Regions from separate parts of the Homo sapiens genome. Here all the other regions are linked to region 3. The links are contacts of gene promoters, found by promoter capture Hi-C in human tissues and cell types (Jung and others, 2019). All regions are on one chromosome and are shown on one strand. Each heading gives the region's core, a stretch centred on a gene start or on the middle of the fragment in contact. The rest is flanking DNA. Distances are from core to core; before and after follow the strand shown. Region 1 overlaps PICK1 (protein interacting with PRKCA 1). Region 2 has its middle 17 kb from the start of MCHR1. Region 3 holds the start of ATF4 (activating transcription factor 4).

Region 1 (3,480 bases), core at 971-3,470, 1.5 Mb after region 3:
ACTATCAGGAGTGCCAGAACCCGGAGGATGGAAGTGGGGCTGAGGGAGGTAGCTGCCACCCTTGGCCAAGCTGAACTCACAGTGGGGACCCTTGCCCCCGAGACTTTCAAATCACCCCATGGCTGTGCACTGCCTGCACATCAGTTCTTTCACAGTATTGGTTTCCTGAGACTAGCTAGCAGCCACTTCGCTAGGAAATGGCAAAGGGGCTGCATGCTCGCTTCAGGAGAGGCCGGGATGCCGCCTGCCATTCCAGTCCTGGAGCGGCAGGGGTGGGGGAAAGCGGGGCAGGCAGTGTGTGACTCTGGTCTGTAGAGCAGAAGATCAGCTGGCCTGGGAGGGGGGTCTCTGGGTGTCTATGAGCCCAGGAGGCTGTGTGGGACCGAAAGTTCCTACAGGATGGGGAAAGGGCACTCTTCTTTCCCTCCTAGCCCTCACAGGCCCAGCGTGACCCGGCTGACATTATTGGGTGTCTACTGACCCAGGGAGGATCACCTTGGACTTTTAGCTTCAGCTCTGGCACTGACTGGGGACACATGGGCTTGCCTGAGGGGTGGTTCCAAGTCTGTCAGCTCCCTGGGAGCTCATGGGGACCTTGTGGTCTTGCTGCCCACTCTCTTGCCAAGGTTCAGCACAAGTCCTGGAGCACGATTAGTATTTATTGAATGAATGAGGGATGGATGAGGGAGGCTGGAGTGTGACCCTGACCCTGCACATGACAAGGAAGGGGGCGGTGAGGGCTGATACCCCCTTCCAGGCCTGCTGGGACCTCTGGCAGCCTGGAGGTCTCAGAAACATGTGTTGCTGCCTCTGGACACCTGCTCTGCAGCAGCCCTTACCTTCACCTCCTGAATCATCTTCGCCACCTCCACCTTAGTTTTCCCTTTGATTGACCTGCCATTGACACCGGTGATCTCATCGCCAGCTGCCACTGTGCCGTCCAAGGCTGCTGGGGTGTTGTCAAATACCTGTGGGTGCATAAGGAGAGTGGTGGGGGAAGAAAGGGAGGGCTAAGATGGAACCTGGGAAGACACCTGACCACTGCCTGGCTCTGTCTTCCACTCTACCCTCTGCTCTCGTTTTTTGAGAAAGCGTCTCACCACCCGGGCTGGAGTGCAGTGGCGTGATCACAGCTCACTGTGGCACTGAACTCCTGGGCTCCAGCAATTCTCCTGCCTCAAATACATAGTCAAATGATTTCTTTTTTTTGAGTCGGCGTTTCGCTCTTGTTGCCCAGGCTGGAGTGCAATAGCGCCATCTCGCTCACCGCAACCTCCGCCTCCCGGGTTCAAGCAATTCTCCTGCCTCAGCCTCCCGAGTAGCTGGGGTTACAGGCATGCGCTACCACGCCCGGCTAATTTCGTATCTTTAGTAGAGACAGGGTTTCTCCATGTTGGTCAGGCTGGTCTCAAACTCCCGACCTCAGGTGATCCACCTGCTTTGGCCTCCCAAAGTGCTGGGATTACAGGTGTGAGCCACCGTGCCCGGCGGCATCAAATGATTTTTGACAAGGGTGTCAAGAACATTCAATGGGGAAGGACAGTCATTTCAACAATGGTATGTGAAAAATGAAGTTGACACTACTTAACACCACATACAAAAATTAACTCAAGGCCAGGCGCAGTGGCTCACACCTGTAATTCCAACACTCTGGGAGGCCAAGGCAGGCAGATCACCTGAGGTCAGGAATTCGAGAGTAACCTGGCCAACATGGCGAAACCCCATCTCTACTAAAAATACAAAAATTAGCTGGGCATGGTGGCAGGCGCCTGCAGTCCCAGCTACTCAGAAGGCTGAGGCAGGAGAATCGCTTGAACCTGGGAAGTGGAGGTTGTAGTAAGCCGAGATCATGTCACTGCACTCCAGCCTGAGCAACAGAACGAGACTCTGTCTCGAAGATAATAATAATAATAATAATTAACTCAAAATTGTTCAAAGACCTAAATGTAAAAGTTAAAACTATAAAACTCAGAAAAATGCCTAGTCCAAAACCTTCACGACATTGGAGTTTACAGTAATTTCTTGGATGTGACACCTAAGATCCAAGTAACAAAAAATAAACAAATTGAACTTCATAAAAATTTTAAAACTGGTGCATCAAAATACACCATCCAGTCTGGGCAATGTGGCAAAACCTTGTCTCTACAAAAAACACGAAAATTAGCTGGGCATGGTGGTGTACGCCTGTAGTCCCAGCTACTTGGGAGGCTGAGGTGGGAGGATCGCTTGAGCCTGGGAAACAGAGGCTGCAGTGAGCTGAGATCCCGTCACTGTACTCCAGCTTGGGCAACAGAGTGAGACACTGTCTCGAAAAAAAAAAAAAAAAAGAACAGAGAAGAGAAGAAAAGAAAGGCAACCCACAGAATGGGAGAAAATATTTGCAAATCACATTTTTGATAAGGGATTAATATCCAGAATATATGCAGAATTCCTAAAACTCTTTTTTCTTTTTTTCCTCTTAGCCGATTGTGCTTTGTAGAGAATTCTTAAAACTCAACAACAAAAACCAAACAACCTAATTCAAAAATAGACCAAGGGCTGGGCACGGTGGTGCGCACCTGTAATCCCAGCATTTTGGGAAACCGAGGTGGGAAGATCGCCTGGGCAATATGGCAAAACTCTGTCTCTACAAAAAAAATACAAAAATGAGCCAGGCATGGTGGCGCGTGCCTGTAGTCCCAGCTACTCGGGGGTCTGAGGTGGGAGGATCGCTTGAGCCCAGGAGGTTGAGGCTGCAGTGAGCCATGATCGCACCCCTGCACTCCAGCCTGGGCGACAGAGCAAGATCCTGTCTCAAAAAAAAAAAAAGTTAAGATGGTAAATTTTACCACAATAAAAAAATAGAAAAAAGCAGAACAGAGAATACAGAAAGCAGGATGTCATCATCGAGATACATGACAAGAAGGACATGGTGTTCCCGATGACGCCCTCTGAGGATCTGGCACAATAAACAAAAGCCTGTGCCTGCAGCTACCATCACGACTCCTCCCAACACCAGGGACAAAAACAAAGTCCTCAAAGTTCTCACAGATCAGAAATAAAACACATCACAAATAAAGGATCACCAATAAGAATGGCAATAGCCATGTGACAGCAAAGGACAATGTGACAAGGCCATCACACTTCCACACAGGAATTACTGTCAACCTTGACGTTCATTCTTGAATCGAATGAGCCAAAATGTCAACTGAAAGGAATATGGGAACCACAATGACCAAAAAAGACAGACCCGAGGTCTCAAAAAATTGACATCCCACGTGCCCTTTCTCAGAAAGCTACAGGAGGATATTCTCCACGGGAGATCAGGGAGTAAACCAGGAAAGGGACCCCCAAGATGGGGGAATCCAAAGAGAAGGGGCAGGGGCAGGGGGAGGGCACAAGGGGGAGAGACTACAGGGCGGAAAACAGACTGAAGAAAATGGGGCCGGGCATGGTGGCTCACGCCTGTAATCCCAGCACTTTGGGAGGTCGAGGCAGGTG
Region 2 (3,326 bases), core at 511-3,010, 1.2 Mb before region 3:
CTTAGCCTGGTGCCTGATGTATAGCCAGCACTTGCTGACTGTTAGCCATCCTGGTTATTATGGTCATTACTGCTCTCTTCGCCCCGTCACCTCCCTCACAGTCTCTGCCTTCCTCAGCTCTGCATGCTCTGACACTTTTTAAAATGGAGATAAAATTCACATACCATAAAGTATGTGAATTCTTTATTCACATACCATAAAGTGTGTGAATTCTTTATTCACATACTTTTAAAGTGTATGATTCAGTGATTTTTGGTATATTCACAAAGATGTACAACCATCACCACGATCTCATTCCACAACATTTGTATCACCCCTGAAAGAAATCCTGTACCTGTTAACAGTCGCTCCCCATCTCTCCCTCCCCTCAGCTTCTGGCAACTACTAACCTACTTGATATCTCTATGGATTTGCTTATTCTGGACTTTTTTTTTTTTTTTTTTTTTTTTTTGAGAGAGAGATACTGGGTCTTGCTCTGTCACCCAGGCTGGAAGTGCAGTGGTATGATCATAGCTCACTGCAGCCTCAAACTCCTGGACTCCAGCGATCCTTTGTGCCTCAGCCTCCCAAGGAGTTGGGTCTACAAGTGTGCACCACCACACCTGGCTAATTTTTAATTTTTTTTGTAGAGATGGGGTTTTGCTATGTTGCCCAAGCTGGTCTCAAACTCCTGGCCAGAAGTGATCCTCCCGCCTCAGCCTCCCAAACTGCTGGGATTACAGGCGTGAGCCACCATGCCCAGCCTATTCTGGACATTTTATGTACATGGAATTACACAATATGAGATCTTTTGTGACTGGCTTTTATTTAGCATATTTTCAAGGTTCATGTGTGTTGTAGCATGTATCAGTACTTTATTTTGTGGCTGAATAATTCCATTGCATAGATTTACTGCATTTTATTTGTCTATTAATTAGTTGAGGGACTTGTAGATGCCTCCACTTTTTTTTTTTTTTTTTTTTTTGAGACAGAGTCTCGCTCTGTCGCCAGGCTGGAGTGCGGTGATGCGATCTCGGCTCACTGCAACCTCTGCCTCCTGGGTTCAAGCGATTCTCATGCCTCAGCCTCCCGAGTAGCTGGGATTACAGGCATGTGCCACCACACCCAGCTAATTTTTGTATTTTTGGTAGAGACAGGGTTTCACCATGTTGGCCAGGCTGGTCTCAAAGTCCTGACCTCGTGATCTGCCTGCCTTGGCCTCCCAAATTGCTGGGATTACAGGTGTGAGGCACTGCGCCCGGCCGTCTCCACCTTTCGGTAATTATGAATAATGCTTCTATAAACCTTTGTGTACAAGTTGTTGTGTGGATATATTTTCAATTCTCTTGGGTATATATCTCCATCAGAAGAGGGGGAGTTAAAGCTTCTACAGAAAATATAATTACGCTATTTCAAACAATAGAACAATTCTGCCCATGGTTTCCAGAACAGGGAACTTTAGATTTAAAAGACTGGGAAAAAATTGGCAAAGAATTAAAACAAGCAAGTAGGGAAGGTAAAATCATCCCACTTACAGTATGGAATGATTGGGCCATTATTAAAGCAACTTTGGAACCATTTCAAATAGAAGAAGATAGCGTTTCAGTCTTTGATGCCCCTGAAAGCTGTGTAATAGATTGTGAGGAAGAGGCAGGAACAGAGTTCAAGAAAGGAATGGAAAGTTCACATTGTAAAAATGCAGTAGAGTCTGTAATGCCTGCCTGCGTTGTAGGATTGCCTGCCTTGTAGTATTGCCCGCCTTGTAGGATTGGAAGTGCTGCATTCTATAGTAGCTCTATATTTAACATTTTGAAACTGCTAAACTGTTTTCTACAGTGGCTGCGCTATTTGACATTCCCATGAGCCGTGTCTGAGGGTTCCCATTTCTGCACATCCCTGACAACTCTTGCCATTGTCTGTCCAATGCTGCCACTTTTCTCCCAGTAACTGTGTGCCTCATGAGTATTCAGTTTGTTGGATGGAAGCTCTCCACTGCTCTGGCGTCTCTGCGTTTCTTTGATGCTGGCATAAGAGGCATGGTTTCTCCACTGGCAGCATCAGCTGGGACATTGGATTTGGGAAAAACTCTGAGGTTCCTTTGCATCAGGCTGGGGGCTGAGCCCTGAGGTCCATGTCTTCATGGAGCCTGGAGTCTATGGAGGCACAAATAAGTCAACAAAGTGTCCAATTGCAATGCGGTGAGCACGACTCCAGAGGGAAGCCCAGGGCATTATTATTAAAGTGTGATGGGTCGTGATTACCGGTGGCTTATGCCTGTAATCCCAGCACTTTGGGAGGCTGAGGTGGCAGTGAGCCGAGATCATGCCACTGCATGCTTTAGTCTCGCTCTGGGCAAGACTCCATCTCAAAAAAAAAAAAAAGGGGGACCAGGCGCGGTGGCTCATGCCTGTAATCCCAGCACTTTGGGAGGCCGAGGCGGGCAGATCACTCGAGGTCAGTTCGAGATCAGCCTGGCCAACACGGTGAAACCCCGTCTCTACTAAAAATGAAAGAAAATTAGCCGGGTGTAGTGGTGCACGCCTGTAATCCCACTTACTAGGGAGGCTGAGGCAGGATAATTGCTTGAACCCGGAAGGAGGAGGTTGCAGTGAGCTGAGATCATGCCACTGCACTCCAGCCTGGGTGACAGAACAAGACTCTGTCTCAAAAATAAATAAATAATAAATAAACAAATAGGCTGGGCACGGTGGCTCACGCCTGTAATCCGAGCACTTTGGGAGGCTGAGGTGGGAGGATCACAAGGTCAGGAGATCGAGACCAGCCTGGCCAACATGGTGAAACCCCGTCTCTACTAAAAATACAAAAATTAGCTGGGCATGGTGGCAGGAGCCTGTAATCTCAGCTACTCCAGAACCTGAGGCAAGAGAATCGTGTGAACCCGGGAGGCGGAGGTTGCAGTGAGCTGAGATCGCCCCATTGCACTCCAGCCTGGGTGACAGGGTGAGACTCCGTCTCAAAAAAAAAAAAAAAAAGAAAAGAAAAGAAAAGAAAAATAAATAAAGTGTGATGGAGAGATGGTACCGATTCCCCCCACCTGAGAGCCAAGAGGTTGTGCAAGGAGGGCTTCCTGGAAGAGGCAATGACGGACCTAAGTCTTAAAGATTAAGGAGTCACTCAGACAAAAAAAGGCGGGGCATAGTATTCCCAGGTGAGGGGAACTGCACAAGGCAAGACACGGAGCTGGGAAACAGTCTGGACTGTGCTGTGGAAGTGGCTGGCAGGAGAATAAAGTGGGGATTTGATGGTGACAGAGGAAGAGAGAGATTGGAGTGTGATAAACCTATGTACTGCATGGGAGACGCAGCAGCCGGGAGGCCTCTGCCTTG
Region 3 (3,357 bases), core at 524-3,023:
GGATCGTAAGGTTTGGGACGGGCAGACCCACAGAGAACACCTGGAGATGGGAGGCTCCTATTTGGAGAGCCCCTGGTAGAGGGGCTGTGCTGAGGAGACCCCAGATAGGACTCTGGGCTCATACAGATGCCACTATCATTATCTGAAGGGGTGTCTTCCTCCTTTATGCACTGAGGGATCATGGCAACGTAAGCAGTGTAGTCTGGCTTCCTATCTCCTTCAGTGATATCCACTTCACTGCCCAGCTCTAAACTAAAGGAATGATCTGGAGTGGAGGACAGGACCCCTGGGGAAAGGGGAAGAGGTTGTAAGAAGGTGAAGGGGGCAACCTGGTCGGGTTTTGTTAAACTTTCTGGGAGATGGCCAATTGGGTTCACCGTCTGGGGGGGCTGCTTATTAGTCTCCTGGACTAGGGGGGCAAAGAGATCACAAGTGTCATCCAACGTGGTCAGAAGGTCATCTGGCATGGTTTCCAGGTCATCTATACCCAACAGGGCATCCAAGTCGAACTCCTTCAAATCCATTTTCTCCAACATCCAATCTGTCCCGGAGAAGGCATCCTCTGCAAAACATTTGAGTGATGGGGCCAAGTGAGTCAGATACAAAGGTAGGAGGCCCCTAACCCTAGATCCCACCAGGACGATGTGGTGGTGGCCCACTCACCCTTGCTGTTGTTGGAGGGACTGACCAACCCATCCACAGCCAGCCATTCGGAGGAGCCCGCCTTAGCCTTGTCGCTGGAGAACCCATGAGGTTTGAAGTGCTTGGCCACCTCCAGGTAATCATCTAAGAGACCTAGGCTTTCTTCAGCCCCCAAACCCGACTGGTCGAAGGGGGACATCAAGTCCCCCACCAACACCTCGCTGCTCAGGAAGCTCATTTCGGTCATGTTGCGGTGCTTTGCTGGAATCGAGGAATGTGCTTAATTCGAAGGTGTCTTTGTCGGTTACAGCAACGCTGCTGCTGAATGCCGTGAGAAGCCTGAATGAGAATCAGAAGCCAACTCCCATTAGAGGTTAGCTGTTCTGAGAATTTCATCCTTCCACTTATGAGGCGGGACTTCTCTAGATCGGCCATCTAGAGAATCGGGAACAGGGCAGTTGTATTTGCCCCTCCCTGCTTGCAACTCAGGTTCCACAAAATGGACGCTCACGGAGACCAGGGGATTCTTCCACCGGCCGCCAAGAGGAAAGCGCTCCGTCCCCACGTCCAAATACGGCCAGGGCGGCCGCGCCCCGCCCACCGCCCGCCCTTGACTCACGCCCGCGCCGCCGCCCTGCCGCCGCCATCTTGGTTCCTGCCACGTTTCGTGGGGCAACAGCCAAGACCCCTGGGACCCTTGCGGGGCTCGGGGTCCGAGGGCTGTAGGGCTCCTGGGGAAGCAGTCCGGGCACCCGACTACGCTTTCCCGATCCCAGGCACGCGAGCGTCTCGGGGACACCCAAGCAAAGACCACGCGTCCCGGGCGCTCGTTAAATCGCTTCCCCCTTGGCGGCACCGCCCTGGCCCCAGGCCGCACCCCACCAATCCAAAACCCGCGCCGGCCCCAGGAGCACAGCTGGACGACCCGCCCCGGTACTCACGCCATGGCTTAAGCCGCTGGGGGTTGCCGCTGCAGAGCCTGGTGCTGCTGCCGCCGCTGCAAAGGCCAATGCTGCCGCAGGCACTGCTGCCCCTAATACGCCATGGTGGCCGTGGACCCTGAGGGCGGGGAGGAGGGAAAACGCACACGCGCAGAGAAAACTACATCTGTGGGCGGGCAAAGTAGAAATGGCTGCCGTGGCCGCCCGCCGGCCCTTTATAGACTTCGTCTCTATGGGGACGCAGCACAGACGCATCCTTCCGCCGCGACCACGTGACCGTCTCCTCCCGCCCGCTCCCTTCCCTCCCTCCCTTTGACGCCCCAACCGTTTATGCCCAGGGCGTAGCTGTGACGAGAAAAGGAGTTTGTTCTTATGGCCTCACGAAAGGAGAGAGGTGTACTACTTTACTAGGCTTCTATGATCAGAGTCCGTTCTTTCCTTCGCCGCCGGAGCGCGGAGTGATCTCCCAGACACGCCTCGCTTCCGGTGTCAGCGCAGTGGGCGGGGAAAGGTCGTTTTCCGGCGAAGAGTTTTTATTGTGAAGGCCGAGGACGCCAGGTTATCGCGCGAGGTGCTGGCGAAGAGCGCGCGTCAAGGTGATTGGCCCAGGCCCGGTGAATCATATATATCTCGAGCTCTTATTGGCTCAGGGCCCTAGATGGGCGGCTGCTGGGAGAGGGATCCCGGGGTCCGCGTGGGAAGGGTTGGGGTCTCGGGTCGCTGCTAGTCCTCAGCCAGCCCCGCCTGCTGGCCCGCCACGATCGCGCTGGCTCCTGCCCCCAGGCGGCCTTAGCCCAGCGCACCCCTTAGTGGCCTCAGGGACCAGCCCTTGCGGTCGGATCCCGCCGCCCTCAGTGGAGGTCCGCACTGGTGGCCCCGCCGCCGCTCCCAGCCTGCGCGTCCTTCGGTTGCGGGTGGTGATTTGTGGCCTGCGGAAACCGGGGGGTTACCTGTTCCAAGCCTGAGTTTTCCAGAGGCCCCATTCATAGCCGACACGGCGCTGCTGCCCCCGGGAGGTTGAAGGGGCCTCGAGAGGGCGCGCCGGGCCTGTCCACCTACCCCCAAAGGCCGGCTGAGTCTGCATGGCTCCTCCTAAACTCTGGAAAGGAGCCGGGAAGACGCGCCGTCCTGTCGCCCAACCTGGGTTTTTACAATTTTCATCCGGCTCAAGTGCAAGGCTGCCACAGAATAGCATCATAGAGGAACTTCTGGTGTCCGAAGATTGCGTTCTCCTAAGAACAAGATTTTCTTCGCTGCCGTCTCCCTGGGGTAGTTCGGATTCACTCCGGATTCTGAACTCCCCGGCCTAACCCGCTTTTCAGCAGTCACGCCCATGGCCCAGGGAGGAGAGGCGCTTGGGAACCCACGGCCACTTACTGGGGGTTGTGCGTTGGGAAGGGGTAGTCTGTTTTAAGAATACAAGAAACCTCCCCATCATCCTTCAGCCCCTTCCAGTCAGGCCCTGTGAAGGTGGAAACTTTGAGTTTCCGCCTCCATTTCACTGGGCCACACAAGTATGAGCGCTGTGATATCAAACAACCAGGGAAGCACTGCTCTAAATAACCACAGGCCATCTGCTGCGCTCATTCAACCTCGCCCACAAATCCTTTCCAATGGTAAACCGAGGCCCAATGGGATGAAGCTTCTTGCTCAAAGTCACAAGGCTCCCAGTGGAGGGAGTATGGGGTAGGAGTTAGAAGACAGATTTTGGGGAGCGCATCCAAAAGAATCCTGGCTGGGACATTTTGGCTAAATGACTTATACTCTCTGAGCC

The links. The method cuts DNA at HindIII sites, captures the fragments that hold promoters and counts their contacts. A contact is called where the count stands out against the background at its distance.
Region 1: a contact is called between a fragment that was not itself captured here and the fragment with the promoter of ATF4 in region 3, in 1 of the 25 tissues and cell types used here (dorsolateral prefrontal cortex).
Region 2: a contact is called between a fragment that was not itself captured here and the fragment with the promoter of ATF4 in region 3, in 1 of the 25 tissues and cell types used here (lymphoblastoid cells).

What each region holds. Positions count from the first base shown.
Region 1 is chr22:38,062,490-38,065,969 of GRCh38, reverse strand. PICK1 (protein interacting with PRKCA 1) reads right to left here. Exons shown (of 13, transcript NM_012407.4): 4 at 840-968. Among named protein-coding and RNA genes, the nearest start is that of PICK1, 6.8 kb to the right of the region's middle. The HindIII fragment of the contact is 9,593 bases long and covers 1-3,480 here.
Region 2 is chr22:40,694,761-40,698,086 of GRCh38, reverse strand. No RefSeq gene overlaps it. Among named protein-coding and RNA genes, the nearest start is that of MCHR1, 17 kb to the right of the region's middle. The HindIII fragment of the contact is 5,724 bases long and covers 1-3,326 here.
Region 3 is chr22:39,518,978-39,522,334 of GRCh38, reverse strand. ATF4 (activating transcription factor 4) reads right to left here and starts at 1,773. Exons shown (of 3, transcript NM_182810.3): 1 at 1,584-1,773; 2 at 664-981; 3 at 1-562. The coding sequence starts at 889. RefSeq lists enhancers at 1,296-1,345, 1,706-1,855 and a silencer at 2,236-2,435. The HindIII fragment of the contact is 4,198 bases long and covers 392-3,357 here.